4 separate regions of the Homo sapiens genome follow, and all the other regions are linked to region 1. The links are contacts of gene promoters, found by promoter capture Hi-C in blood cells and fetal thymus (Javierre and others, 2016). All regions are on one chromosome and are shown on one strand. Each heading gives the region's core, a stretch centred on a gene start or on the middle of the fragment in contact. The rest is flanking DNA. Distances are from core to core; before and after follow the strand shown.

Evidence for each region. The method cuts DNA at HindIII sites, captures the fragments that hold promoters and counts their contacts. A CHiCAGO score of 5 or more calls a contact.
Region 2: a contact is called between a fragment that was not itself captured here and the fragment with the promoter of SAMD13 in region 1, in 4 of 17 cell types (M2 macrophages, M0 macrophages, M1 macrophages and 1 more). The highest score is 11.4, in M2 macrophages.
Region 3: a fragment that was not itself captured here is called in contact with the fragment with the promoter of SAMD13 in region 1 in 2 of 17 cell types (erythroblasts and megakaryocytes); the score reaches 5.6 in erythroblasts.
Region 4: a contact is called between a fragment that was not itself captured here and the fragment with the promoter of SAMD13 in region 1, in 2 of 17 cell types (megakaryocytes and M2 macrophages). The highest score is 6.4, in megakaryocytes.

What each region holds. Positions count from the first base shown.
Region 1 is chr1:84,300,136-84,303,697 of GRCh38, reverse strand. SAMD13 (sterile alpha motif domain containing 13) reads right to left here and starts at 1,990. Exons shown (of 4, transcript NM_001134663.2): 1 at 1,897-1,990; 2 at 411-495. The coding sequence starts at 463. The HindIII fragment of the contact is 6,789 bases long and covers 985-3,562 here.
Region 2 is chr1:84,413,631-84,417,192 of GRCh38, reverse strand. It overlaps DNASE2B (deoxyribonuclease 2 beta), which reads right to left. Exons shown (of 6, transcript NM_021233.3): 6 at 2,175-2,665. The coding sequence ends at 2,325. Among named protein-coding and RNA genes, the nearest start is that of DNASE2B, 17 kb to the right of the region's middle. The HindIII fragment of the contact is 7,103 bases long and covers 1-3,562 here.
Region 3 is chr1:84,184,775-84,188,336 of GRCh38, reverse strand. It overlaps PRKACB (protein kinase cAMP-activated catalytic subunit beta), which reads right to left. Exons shown (of 10, transcript NM_182948.4): 5 at 3,155-3,237. Among named protein-coding and RNA genes, the nearest start is that of PRKACB, 42 kb to the right of the region's middle. The HindIII fragment of the contact is 1,202 bases long and covers 1,357-2,558 here.
Region 4 is chr1:84,200,691-84,204,252 of GRCh38, reverse strand. PRKACB (protein kinase cAMP-activated catalytic subunit beta) reads right to left here. Exons shown (of 10, transcript NM_182948.4): 8 at 1,448-1,570. Among named protein-coding and RNA genes, the nearest start is that of PRKACB, 58 kb to the right of the region's middle. The HindIII fragment of the contact is 942 bases long and covers 1,398-2,339 here.

The sequences.
Region 1 (3,562 bases), core at 741-3,240:
TCCTGCACTATAGCTCTTAGTTTTCAGAGTTAGAGGTGATTGTATTTCAAAAAAAAAATTTGAACTCTATTTTCTGCCCCCATTCTGTGTTGTCTATGGAAGAGTCTCTGCTTGGAGTTTTTGTTTCAATATACAGAATGCAGGGCTGAAATCCTCAACCATCCTTGTTCCAAAGCCTGATACACAAACCTTTCATATATATTTTGATGTCTGAGTCATCTCTGTCTTAGAAATGCAATACAGAAAAAGGTAACTGGGGTAGGGGGGAGAAGGGAGGCTGCTGGCCAGTGTAGACAAACCAAGGCGACCCCCAAACTGTGTATTGTAGTAGATAAGCAAGAAGTACGAAAATAGAAACTAAGTCCCTCTGTTGTTTGCAGAAGCAGAACTCAGAAGCCAGCTTCACTTACTTTTTTACACCGACAGAGCCATTTTCCTTGTTTTCCATGTCAACAGATAGCATGGGAAGGCTGCAGGGTTCCTTTACTTCAGCAACTAATCAATAAGGGAGAAAAGCTTGTGTTTAATTCTTAGAAAGTGAGAGAAGAATATATATTCTGAATCGGAAACATAATGGTCCCTTTTACAGCTTCACACCAGTTCACGTATGTTTGTTTAAATCTCCAGTTCCCTCGGCGATTGGAGAGATGTGATTAAACCTAAAGAACTGGAGGAGACGGATTGGGGTGCTTTCATCTGTACTGGCACTCCCTGCCTTGACAATAAGCATTTGCAAATGAAATTGAATCCTCGTTGAAAACAAGTGCTGTGTGAACTGGCACAGCTTCTTCTGGGTGCCTAGCTCTCACTTAAGACACTGCAACTCATAAATGAGTCAAAGTAGAGAAAAACAATCCCCCTTTTCCTGCCCCCCTCCCATTATGGGCTTTGATTTGTTTTTTCTTATTGTGTTTGGTTTTTTTTTTGTCCACTCCCCCTTGCTCCTAGATTTTTTCATTGCAATGCAGAAGGACACTTAAAGCTTTTGTCAGCAAGTATTCCCCTACCTCACATTCTCAACGAAAGCCTCAAAAACCCGTCTGTGAGATGGCCATGCTGTGGTAAAGCAGGAAGCTCACAAAAAATGCCAGATAGCCCTTAGCACAGAAAGGTGGTGCTGGTGTGTGTGTGTGTGTGTGTGTGTGTGTGTGTGTGTATGTGTAAGAAAGAGTAGGTAACTCATTAGATTTATGAAAAATCATCAAAACATTTAAGGAGATATTGTAGCATCCATCACTCTGTCTTTTTGTTTAGTAGGATGAGGGCTGTGGAAAATTAAAAGCCTTCCACAATTAATATGCAATTAGCAAAATGAAAAAGCTACGAACAAAACTGCTTTAAGAAAAAAAAAAAAAAAAAAGGAAGAAACAGTCCCGAAACGTGTTTGCTCTTATTCAGCTGAAGCCATAAATTAAATACATTTCCACTCAAATCACTTTATACTTCGGCACTCCTTCTCTAGGGATTACTCTGACATGGCAAGTGCATCATTTAGTATATTCGCAAGATTTTATCACTGTTAGAGAAGTAGATGATTAACAAATAACACTGTAAGTGTGGGATAATTTTCACTCCTGAAACACACACATACACACAAACTTCCAGCTGCAAACCACTTAGATCATTGATAGAGAAATCCAACATTTAATATATATATATAGATATTAGCATACATTCACACACCGTTAGAGAGTAGACAGGAAGATAGTGCTGCTGCTCCATGCTAACAGAATATGATTTCACTTCAGTTGGAAACTGTTACACATTCACCATTTTCTAAGCATCTCAGAAAACAAAACAAAACACTCACAATGATACTCTGCAACACCACACTACATTGTCTTATTATTATTACTATTATTTTCTTTTCTGTGGAAGAGTAAAAAGAAAACCTACCTATAAGCAACTAAAAAATATCATTTTTTATAGGCTTATCAAGAACAGCCAAAGAAACCCCAATGTTTTCTTTCACAAAGTAGGCTGGCAAAGGAATTCAATAAGGAGGTACAATTTGACACAGTGAAATAAAACCAGGCTGGCTCTCAGCCAACATGACGTTAGGAATCACACACAAGCTGCACCAACTGCCTTCTGGTTCATGGCTGACTTTTTAAAGCTACAGTGTGCCTGTTCACTTTTGCTAACTACCTTCAGCACAATTAGTGCAAGAAATGAGTAAGGAGTCCAAAACCTGCAGAATTCTCCCTGCACCTGTCTTGTACAAAGAAAAACAAGCTGTCTCAATAGCTTCTTATTTTCTCCCTCCCCTTCATTGTTGCTGCATGATAGGTCTTAGCTGTTGTTCTGAGCATGAATGTCATGTTTCAAACTATTTCCTTTTCTCCCCAGAGGGAAAAATAAGAGTGAGAAGCCAGTGCTTATGGGCTATAACCAGAGAACACTCGGAAGCTGCAGTCCCATGTTACTCTTTTTTTCCTAATAGAGATTCATGGACAAAGTTCCCAGGGCTGGCTTTTAAGTAATCTCTTTGTGAGAATAAGGAAAGCACTGCCCAGCAGCAAATCCTTTTACTTCATTATGCAGGAAGTAACATATTTCGGAAAGGATGCAAAATAGATGACCAGATCTCCTGAAAACGCCCACATTCTTTTATTTTGGCATTTATCCTGCCAAATGAAGCCAGCAAAAATTCAAACTGAAACAAACAAAACCTTATTCTACAAAACGAAAACAATTAGTTCTGGGAGGTTTAATTTTAACTGTTTATCCCAGTTGGACAAAAAGCATAATTCAAGAAATTTAACCAACACTTACAATCTATGAGTACCCGGTACTATATTAGTTACATATGAATAGAAAGACATTATGCCCACCCCAAAATTCATAGTCTCTCCCGCCATCATCCTAAATACCAAATCAGAAAACTGGGAGGTGGAGCAGAGAGGCTGGGCAAGATCTTTTGTTTAAGTTACCCTGGTCATTCTCACAGTTCCCTTGCTTGGCTTAAACCACTTTTCCAGGAGAATAATCTCATCCCATTAATGTTCTGCACATACACAGAAAACATACATGGTTGCCTCTTCATTGAAATAAACATCAATCAACATTTGGACACTTTTAGGTCAAGATGGTCAACAAAACCACTCAAGACAGGGCACAGAACACAGGTTCCCCAGAAAGATCCTGGAAAAAGTTATCACTTGCTGTAATATCCTGTAGAATTCAGGTAGAATCTGAGGAAAAAGCTGCCTGCTTCCCTTTTTAAAAATAATCTTTTAGGACATTAGGAGATTACCTTTGATCTAAATTTGGAACCTGAATTTCAAGGTCAAAAAATTTGTTCTTTACTTATTCCAGGAATTATATTAGAAATTTTTGACTTCCTTGAAGATCAGTGCCAAGAAAGATTTCAAATATTTGCCATTGCTCCCTTGAAAAGGCAAACAATAGTAATCTAGGAACCAATTAAATATTTTTGAGCAGTATTTTTTGAGCATGGGTCAGGCATGTGGATCTTTCACCAGTGCTGATCTCAAAATGATGGACTTTTATGTAGATAAAGAGCTCTTTCACTAACAGATTCCTTAACGCTTTTGGACTT
Region 2 (3,562 bases), core at 501-3,000, 110 kb before region 1:
TGCCTGAGAAAGATTAGCCCTCTTTGGTTTACTGTGGTTGCCTTTAGGTTCTACAACAAGGAGTTACCATCACCAAAATATACCAACACCCCTACCACGGTAAGTATTAGGTATTCTTGAGCTACCAGGACTGTTCAATTCCTTTCCAGCATTTTTTTCTTCCTCAAGGAGAGTCTGGCCACTTCCTATTTCCCCTTCAGCACATCCGTAATGTGTGTCTCCAGTGGGCCAGCATGTTCTTTTTCTTTGTTATACTCCTACACTCTTAATTACACGAATCTAATTATGATTCTCCTCTCCTTCAGATTCAGGGGAGAAGGCTCCTACCTATTATGTATTTTCAGTCCAATAGAATTTCTTCACTTTTGCTTTTTTTTTTTTGCCTTTTCATTCATCTCTCTATTTACCATTGGATCAAGTTTTGGCCCTCTTTACTTTTAAAGTCAGGATCTTGTACTTTAAAATTTTTCTCTTATATTATTTGGATTACTTATGCTTTTTTGGCCTCAGATGCTCTCTCAGAGGCCAAATAATTTTTTTCAGGCCTCTTTATATTTGCAAGAATGTTAGTTAGCTAGATAGCATACAACATAGTTTATGCTTGCTCCTGACAGGAAAACCAAGTTAGTTTTTTCTCTGTTTGTCATTGAACTAGTGCCATGAATTTTGGTTGGTATTGAGATATTAAGATCGATAGCCTCAGAGGTAAGATGGACCTCTATGATACTAGGCAAGTTCCTAAAACTCTGTAGGCCTCAATTTCCTTGTCAGTAAAATGGGGATAATAACAGTTCCTACTACATAGAATTGTTATGAAGATTAAATAAAAATGTAATTAATCGGCCGGGCGCGGTGGCTCACGCCTGTAATCCCAGCACTTTGGGAGGCCGAGGCGGGTGGATCGTGAGGTCAGGAGATTGAGACGATCCTGGCTAACACAGTGAAACCCCGTCTCTACTAAAAATACAAAAAATTAGCCAGGCGTGGTGGCAGGCACCTGTATTCCCAGCTACTCGGGAGGCTGAGGCAGGAGAATGGCGTGAACCCTGGAGGCAGAGCTTGCAGTGAGCCGAGATCGCATCACCGCACTCCAGCCTGGGCAACAGAGCGAGACTCTGTCTCAAAAAAAAAAAAAAAAAAAATTGTAATGAATCCTGAATTACTATGAGTTGAATACTTATTACATAGTAAGTGTTCAGTAAGCGCTAGCTTTATTATTGTTGTGATTACTTTTTCTAGGTTGTAAGCTGCTTGAAATTGTGAACAACACATATGTCAAATATTATTAAGCAATTAGTACTTAACACAAGTTTATTATTATCCATTTATATAACAGTTACAAGTAGTGATAAGAATGCCAGAAAAAGAAACACATTGAAATTAAGATTATTGCATTTGGCTGGGTGCAGTGGCTCATTCCTGTAATCCCAGCACTTTGGGAAGCCAACGTGGGAGGATTGCTTGAGCCCAGTTCAAGACCAGCCTGGGCAACAAAGCAAGACCTCATCTCTATTATTAAAAAAAAAAAAGACTATTGCATTTGATTCTGGTTTCATTATGTTACACTTCTTTATTTCCTTCAAGTTGATGAGTCACACTTATGCAGTTTTTTTTCTCCTAATGTGACTTTAACATTCTTCTTGTAAAATATCACTCATTTCTGAAACTTATTTGTTTTTTTTTTTGCTGGAATTCAAACTCAAATGCCACCATTATTTTTAAGTGTCATCTATGTGCCGGGCTCTGTGCTAGGTACTTGAACATACCTAGCTATTATCTCCCTTTCATAGATTAAAAAAAACAAGGTTCAGAGAATCCAAGTGAATGGCTCAAGATCATCCAATTAGTAAGTAGTAGCTGAAAGAATGACAAATAAGTCTTAACCATAAACCAGTGAGAAAGAACTTTAGGAGCAATATGATCAAATAGTATGGAAGAATACGCAGAGAGAGTTATTTGCTTTTCTTCAAAAAAGGGTGGGGAAGAGAGTCAGGGAAGTCTTTGTGAAGGAGAGGAAATGTAATCTACTAGGTGGCCAGTCAATCCATAAACAATTGGAGTTGACTAATGTGGAAAAATATTTTTCTTTTTATTTCTTCTATTCTCAGTTGTGTATAATGGTTTATGTCTATGATATATAGTGCAAAGTAAATAAATTACCATTAAATAGAAGATTAAATGGTAAACATGAGAGAAAAATGTTTTATTTTGTGATATGCAGGTTATAAGTATATTCACAGGCCTTTAAAATATAAAGAAGGTGTAATGGAAGAAGACCCATTGTCAAGGTTTTCAATGATAGTACCTGTGTCCTTTCACCAAGTTTACTTACAGCTTTCATAGTATAATACTAATCCTTGAAATGCTTGGTAAATTTGCCAATTCTGGGTACAAATGAATCCTCCACTTCTGAAGGCTTGGTGTGGACTCCGATTTAGGTCTCCAATACATGTCCAGCGATTTTTGGTGCCCTTTTGGGAAATACACCACTTGGCATGATCTTGATAAGAACTGAAATAAGAGTGTCGTGATAATTTAATTGCTTTTATATTGTAGACATGGTAAGGAAGGGAGCAGTTTGAAGGAAGCTCTTGTCTTTTTCGCTGCCAGGTTTCTGTTAACAAGTGTGTCTTCAGCCGTTGAGCCATCCAGGCTGCAAAGATGTCTAGGGTTTAGGAGGAGAAAGATAGTGAGGTTGGTATTTACACTTAGATTAGTCCCTGAAAATATACTCTGGAATGGAAATCATCTTTCACCCCTGATATGTGGATGTCACGAGCACAATAATAACAACATAATTGAGATAGTGGATGAGAAAACATTTTGTAAATGCTAAAGTGATGTGCAAATGTAAGTTATTATCATCATTACTATGATGATGTTGGTGTTTGCAAACATCTTCTGTTCTATAAAACGAATGAAGCAATATATGTCTTTGTCCTGGAAAGACCTTTGGAAAAAATTAGTCTAGAGAAGGAATTAGGGCCAGTTTCTAGGGAACTTTGTAAATCATGCCAAAGTGTTTGGATTTTCCTGAAATCAGTGGAGAGTTTTTAAAGGAATGTTAGTAAAGAATTAATAGAAACTGGTTTATGATCATAAATATCAGTTGAGAGGCAATGGGCAGGATGAATTGGGAAGGACAGGTTAGAAAGAAGAAAGGAAAAACATAAGGCTGTCATAATAACTGTGTCAATAAACACAGGTGTGACCCATGGCAGTGGCAAAGAGTTTGGAGAAGATACAATACATGTGAGTGTTATTAAGGATCTGGAACTGACTGAATTTGATGGTTTGATAGAAGGGTCAGAAAAAGAAGAGATGGGGAGTGACTGGGTAACTATGCAGAATACAAGAAAAAGTAGATTTGTAGGGGATGATGACGCAGTGAGTTTGGCATGTTGAACTTGATGTGGCTGTACCACCTTCAAGTAGAAATGTCTCACTTGCTGTTAAATACATCAGTCAGTATAGAGGTCTGGGGTAGAGATCAAGACTTGAGAATCATTGGAGGGCTTGCTGGAATTGCCCAGCATGGGTATGTAGAATGAGATAAGGAAGG
Region 3 (3,562 bases), core at 708-3,207, 120 kb after region 1:
CCTAATAAAAAAAGATGAGTATATGAAAATACTAATTAAGATCAAGCAGAACAAAAATTACATGAAATTAAATAATTGATAAAAATAATGTTTTCATAACTTTCATTTAAAACATTGTTACATTGTTAGTTCTTAAATATTTTGGTTTCCAGATTTAAAAAAACTTATCTCTTTAGCTATTTATAATTTATAGCAATTTGGTAAAGTATATTTTTGTAAAAAAAGATAAAAGCATTTGCTTTTTTTCTCCTTAATTCAAAAATTAGTTGTAAGTACTTTTATGGGAATATGACTATTTGCACAGGTCCAGTAAAAATCTGCTCTCTCTTTATAGCAGAATATGAAAACACTGATTATATTACTAAGGCTCTAACTGAACTATCGTATTTAAAAAGTGCATAAAATGCCTGACTTCAAGGGTTTCTCAGCATTACAATGAGTAAATAAAAACTGTTACTTCCTGGCAGGACCAGGAACCTCAAGACTGTAAGGAAAATCTAAGACTGCCTTGGTTCGGCTTCCTTGCCTCAAGAGGTTTTTAAATCCAAGATTCCTATGTAATCAATGTAGAGAAAAAAGTTTTTTCTAAAGAATAACTATAATATACCTGTTATTAGACTGTAAGTCTGTACATTATTTTTGAGTCTTGTTATCTACCTATAGACTAGACAAGGTCCTAAATTCTTCTAGGTTCCTCCAATCGAACTTTCTTCCATAAAATTACTAAAATGAGAACCGCTCTGTTCCTGAAGTCCTGTTAGCTGAAACTATATAAATTTTAAGAAACAAGTCTCATGCCTGATGTATGGGCCACACAGAAAGTTCATCAAACTGCCCAAAGCCATAGCCAGAGACATTTACACTGTAAACAAAGCCAAGAAAGTTGATGTTTTCCATGGTGTGAACAGCTTTTCTCAAAACACTAGAACAAGACTCCATATTGTAATGAAACTCTTACCCCTCTTAATGCCTGCTTTTTCACTTAACCAAATAATATTGTAATTTAAAATTCACAATCAGTAACTGCTATAGGTACTGGTGAGACCTGCTAAAGCCATTGACAAAGCCTGACTTAAGAAATTCTTTCAGTTCATCTAGTCACAACATCGACAATATCCTTAACACAATTTTTTGTTTAATTTGTGCTGGTGGTCCCTCTTGCAAAGTTTGGCATTCTCTGCTTTAGTTCAACCCAGTCATAAAATGTTAGTCAATGGCTATAGCAGGTCTCACCAGTTTCCCCTGGTCCTTTGATTTCTTTAGTTTTTTGCCCTTAGGCCTGGGCTTTAGTTCAAAAGCACTGCACAAATACATTTTACTATATTGTTAATTTTTTTGTACTATCATTTGTAAGCTTTGTTCTTAGTGCCTATCTAATCTTTGTAAAGGCAGCTGTCCCAACAGAATAACGTTAGCCCAACACTTAAAGATGACTGCTAATACCTATGGAAGTGATAAGTGGGAACTCGATGCTGGCTGGACTCCAGACAAAAATCTACTTTGAGAAAAATTTTCCTTCTGGCCTCCTCGTTACTTGAATGTGGCCCAGGTCCCTACATAGACACCCCCCAACAGATAACTTCTCTCATATGTGGGACAGAGACAACCAGAACAAGTCCATCCGAGCACCAAGGAATAATTAAGCCTAACTTCAAGATGGTTGACAAGCAATGCTTTCAGAGAAAGATCTTGATCAAAAGGGAAAAATGTGAAAGCTGATTATACAAATTAGTCATTCTCATCATACCTAACTAAATCAGAGTCGAGGGGCCAGGGAATAACGCACTCAGGGCACACAGCACCTGCTCCAAGAATTAAGGCCAGGTGTGGTAGCTCACACCTGTAATCCCAGCACTTTGGGAGGCCAAGGAGGGTGGATCACTTGAGATCAGGAGTTCGAGACCAGCCTGGCCAACACGGTGAAAACCTGTGTCTACCAAAAATAGAAAAATTAGCCGGATGTGGTGGCGGACACCTCTAGTCCCAGCTACTCGGGTGGCTGAGGCAAGAGAATCACTGGAACCCAGGAGGCAGAGGTTGCAGTAAGTCGAAATGGTGCCGCTGTACTCCAGCCTGGGCAACAGAGGGAGACTCAGTCTCAAAAAAAAAACCAAAAACAAACAAAAAAATTATATTTTCCACAAGTCTAGTTGCTGAAACTGCCTATTGTAACCTGAAACCAGTTTTCTCTAACAGCTACTGAGACAACCTACTGCGACTCTTAGACGAGTCTGACCCACCACCATCACTCACCAATCAGAGCTTGCCAGCTCCCCAAAACTTAACTAGTGCTAGTAAACTTTGTTTCAAAACAAATAAACATAAAATTTCTTTTTATAAAACCTCCAACCTTTTCTTTGTTTTCTAGACACATTGAAGACCACCTAGTCTGTGTATATGCCTCAAACTGCAATTCTTGCTTCCTCAATAAAATGTTGAATTTAGAGATTTGTCTCTACATTTTTATTTTGACTTCAACACACTATACTGAATGAAGCTGTACCTGTTTTTTATTTTAGCTTTATTCTATTAGTGATTATTAATGAACGGTAGAAGCTTATAAACTATTAAGTACAGGTAAAACCATCAGATTCTATAACCTATTTTAATAACTCTGAGATCTTATTAGTCATAACCTGATGAGGTACAAACTCCCGTTAAATTATGTGTATATTTTAAAAACTAAACTTAGCAAGAACTTTAAGGAGAATTAAATTTGTGAAAAACAAACTTTTATAATCTTATTACCATAATACTATTATTATTATTTCTCTATATATTTATTTTCCATCTTCATCCTTAAAACAATCCTCTGTCCTGGAGTTGTATTATTAATCTTTGTTTAATAAATATTGATATTTTAAAATTCAATTAATTTTTCCATTTTCTGAAAACTCTTCAAGTAGTGGACCCTCACAATATCTAGCAGTAGTATAACATTTAAATTGGCTTCAAAGTCCTTTTTTTATATTAAATTTTTATATTCTTTATATTAAAACTTGTGTATGATGTGGCCTCTTTGTTTCCACCTAATGCTTCATATGGCCAAAATATTAATCAAACAAAATAAGTTTTTGGCATTGGCATCAACTTAAAAATCTGGTTAAACAACACAAGCATATAAAGATTTGAAGAAAGCAAAACCATTAGTTACCTGAACCTTCCAATTCTTCTTAGATGTGAAAACATTTCACCCCCAGGGACATATTCCATAACCATGTATAAATTAGAATTATCCTATGAACAAATAAAAAGGAAATACAATTATTCAACTTAGGTCAAAATTATTTTAATATTATATAATGCTGAATTAGAAAAATTTAAAATCTCTCTGACAGATTAATAACCTTGAGAAATAAAGAATAAATGGAACATGCTCTAGCTTTTCTATACAGAGACACTCATATTTTTCCCCTCCTAGTTATTTTTGCCACAAACTAGTCTGGGACTTTTGCTCTTCCTTTTCTTGCAGAGAACATCTAGTTCTCAAACAATTAAATACTCAGGCAATGAAGTAACGTTATAATATATGCAAAAGAATAACAAAGGTAAAAAACAATTT
Region 4 (3,562 bases), core at 619-3,118, 99 kb after region 1:
TCCTAATTTGTGAATACTGATAATAAATAAAACTTTCTACATAAAACGTGGCAAAATACAAGGGAAAATCTCATGACCCAGGTAGAGTGCATATGTACTATGAGATAGGGAACAATACTGTGCTGAAATGTATGTTCTAGGTGATTGGATAGACTAATTCTATTGGCAAATGTCTTGTTGCTACAGCCCAGCTGTGCAGCATCTATGATTTAAATTTGAGTGTTGGCAAAAAAAATAAATTACCACATTAGAGACATTCAGGGTACCTTGTGAATAGTTAACAATGGAAATTGTAAGTTGATAGATGCCAAGGGTAAGCTTTCACACTAAATGTAGAGCTTGAATATGGCTGAGATACAAAGAAATAAAGACCTTCCCTCTACTATCTCCTTCCGGCTTATCTCTGCCTAAGAAGGTCACAAAATACAAAGCAAACAAATAAAAAATAAAACAAAAAAACCTCAACTCTATAACATCTCAGGCTAATGTGATAAAGATTGATGCTCTATTTCCTGATCATATTCTAAATGGGACTATGTGGGAAAGAAAAGAAAAGACAAAGCAGTACCACATGTAGAAATAGAAAGAAGGGAAAATAAGCAAAATATCCCTTCCCATATATTTTGTCATTAATGTATAGAAGGTCTCCTTCTGGGAATGTTTAAAAGCCTATTCTTTCATTGCTGCATGGTAGGAAATTCAAGCTCATTTCTATTGAATTGACAATGGTCTTTTAAAAAAAGATCCGAGGTCTGAGCTAAGGCAACAGCAAATGACTGACCCTAAACAAAACACTCTTGAAAGCAAATTAGAGGTTATAAGTGCAAAAGAAGGAAGGTTTATGAAGAAATTTACAAAATGTAAAATACTACAACACAGTAAGTCTACTCATGTTGAAGAAAAATTAATGTTATTTCCATGTTTGCTAAAAACCAATGACAAGTATAATCACAATCTATATGAACAATTCTGTTAAAATCAATTCTATAAATTTCCATCTGAAAAAGGCTTATTCATTTTATATTTACTTTTACTTCCAATGTTATAGTATTGGACATAATTAAAACAAGAAGTCTCTCCTGAAAATGGAAGGGCATATAAAACAGCCCCTAAAACTTTTCTCCATGAAGATAGACACATGAAATAATAAACTATTTTTATTTATTTGAAGGAATATCGAGAATTATGGCTATGATCCTGTTCTTTGTGATAAAAATACTAAATACAGAAATTGCTTTACTGTTTTGTTAATTTCTTTATAAAACTGCCCTTTTTTTCTTAAGAGACTGAAATGATTCAATTCTTATGATAGTAAGAGCAGCAACTGTAGATTTTTCTATATTTTTCCCAATGTAGAATAATAATTATGACACAATATAGTTTCAATTCATGAAGCTTAAAATTCATATACAGTAATAAGAGAGGAATAATAAAATGTTTTACTTACCTTTCCAGAAACAATCTTTTCATAAATCTGAATTGGTTGGTCTGCAAAGAATGGGGGATAGCCAGCTGCCATTTCATAGATTAGCACTCCTAATGCCCACCAATCCACTGCCTTATTGTAGCCCTGAGATAAACCAACACCAATGTCAATTGTTACTTAAGTTACTCAAAAGAGAATGAAGTCAAAGATAATTTCAAAATGATCTGGAAGCATATAAAAATTTTTTTAAAGCAATTGCTGAGCAGCTATTCAGGACAGAATTTAAAAATGAACCAAATGTATCAGGTCAGATTTAAATTAAACAAAGGAGAGGATTTCCAGATACTGAAATTGGATATTAGGAAAGAGTATTAAATCTTCTTCCTAAAATTATTAAGAATATTATAGACAATGAAATTTTCTTTATTTCACTGGTATAATTTAGTTCTTGCTCAATAACAGGAAGGCAGTTAGACCACATTACTTCTTAAGGCCCACTCTAGGTCCATAATCTTATGAAACAGATTTTCCACAGCATGCCTAGAAAGATCAAAAGTTTTCAAAGAAAATAATAGAAACTGGACTACATAGTAAATAATGAAGTTGACTTCAAAATACTCTATATTTTTGGAGTTAGGAGGGTGAATGTGCTAGGGATAATCCCATCTGCTTCATAGGATTTTGTGAAAGCAAAAAGTTTAATGTAAAATTCAATTCATGTAAATATTTAGGTATACTTTACTTCTGCTATCTACTGTCTTGCTTCCTATATCTAAAAGATATGCAGGAAAAAAATGAATTCACAGAGTTTTGTGAGGACTGTATCAAATGAAAGGGAGTAACGTGTGTAAAAAGTGCTTTGCAAACCAAATGTAAAAATCACAGGTTATGTTTGTTTTTTTCATATTAAGCTTACTAAAATTAAAATTTGTAAGTATTCATAAGAAAATAAATAAGAATAACATCTTCATATTAACATGCTAATATAGTTTATTAACTATGGTCAGTATCAACTGACACAAGAGATTTTTTAACAACCCCAAAAACCTGTCATGAAGAGAAATAAGCTGAATTCTACCCAGATCTATTGCTCTGCCCTCAGAGGTACCCTCTACCATCACGACTCACCACATTCCACCCTTTTGTCAAAATTTTAGCTTTACAAACTACTTAGTTTTCAAAATTCTAGCAAAAATATAATACTTTAGCGCTATAGAGATTTTCTTTTTCTCTTTTTTTTCCTGATACTGTGTATATCTTTTTAAGGGAAGGAGTGGTATAACAGGAATAGCACTTTGTTTTTTAATAGAAATAGGCATTAACTCTCTTTAACTTTTTGATTCATATGTTTAAATTGTGTGCTAATGTTTATAGTAAATATGTCAGACACAAGTTAATACCCAAGGTATAGAAATCAAAACACATCAATAAGAAAAATGTTAAATTACAATAGATAAATGGGCCAAGGAAATGAACTAATAATTTACAGACACATAAAGAAATACCAAATGGCTATTAACCATTTGAAAAATAAATAAAAAACATGAGAATTAAAACAATGAGATACAATTTATTGCCTATGAAATCAGTAAATATTTTAAAAATGAGTATACCCAGTGATAGTGTTATGAAATAGGCACTATAATACACTAATGGTAGAAGTGTAAAATGGCATAATAACTTTGGAAAGCAATTTGGCAATATGTATCAAAAGCCTTAAAAATGTTCCTATTCCTTGACCCAGTAATTCTACTTCTGGGAATATATGCTAAGGAAATAATGTAAAATAAGGAAAAAACTTTTATGTATAAGGATGTTTATCATAGTTATTTATAATAATAAAAAAATCAAAAATAAAACCTGAACACTCAACGATAGAAGAGTGGCTACATATTTTATGGTACATTTACAAACAAGCCATTAGAATGATGTTTGCATGCTTGTTATTATAAAAGTGAAAAAAGTCAGAGACAAGACTATATATATTTACTATGATTTCAACTATGACAACCCAGAAATAAGTCCATACACCTACGACCACCCGATCTTTGACAAAGCTGACAAAACCAAGCAATGGGGAAAAGTTTCCCTACTCAATAAATGGTGCTGGGATAACTGGCTAGCCACATGCAAAAG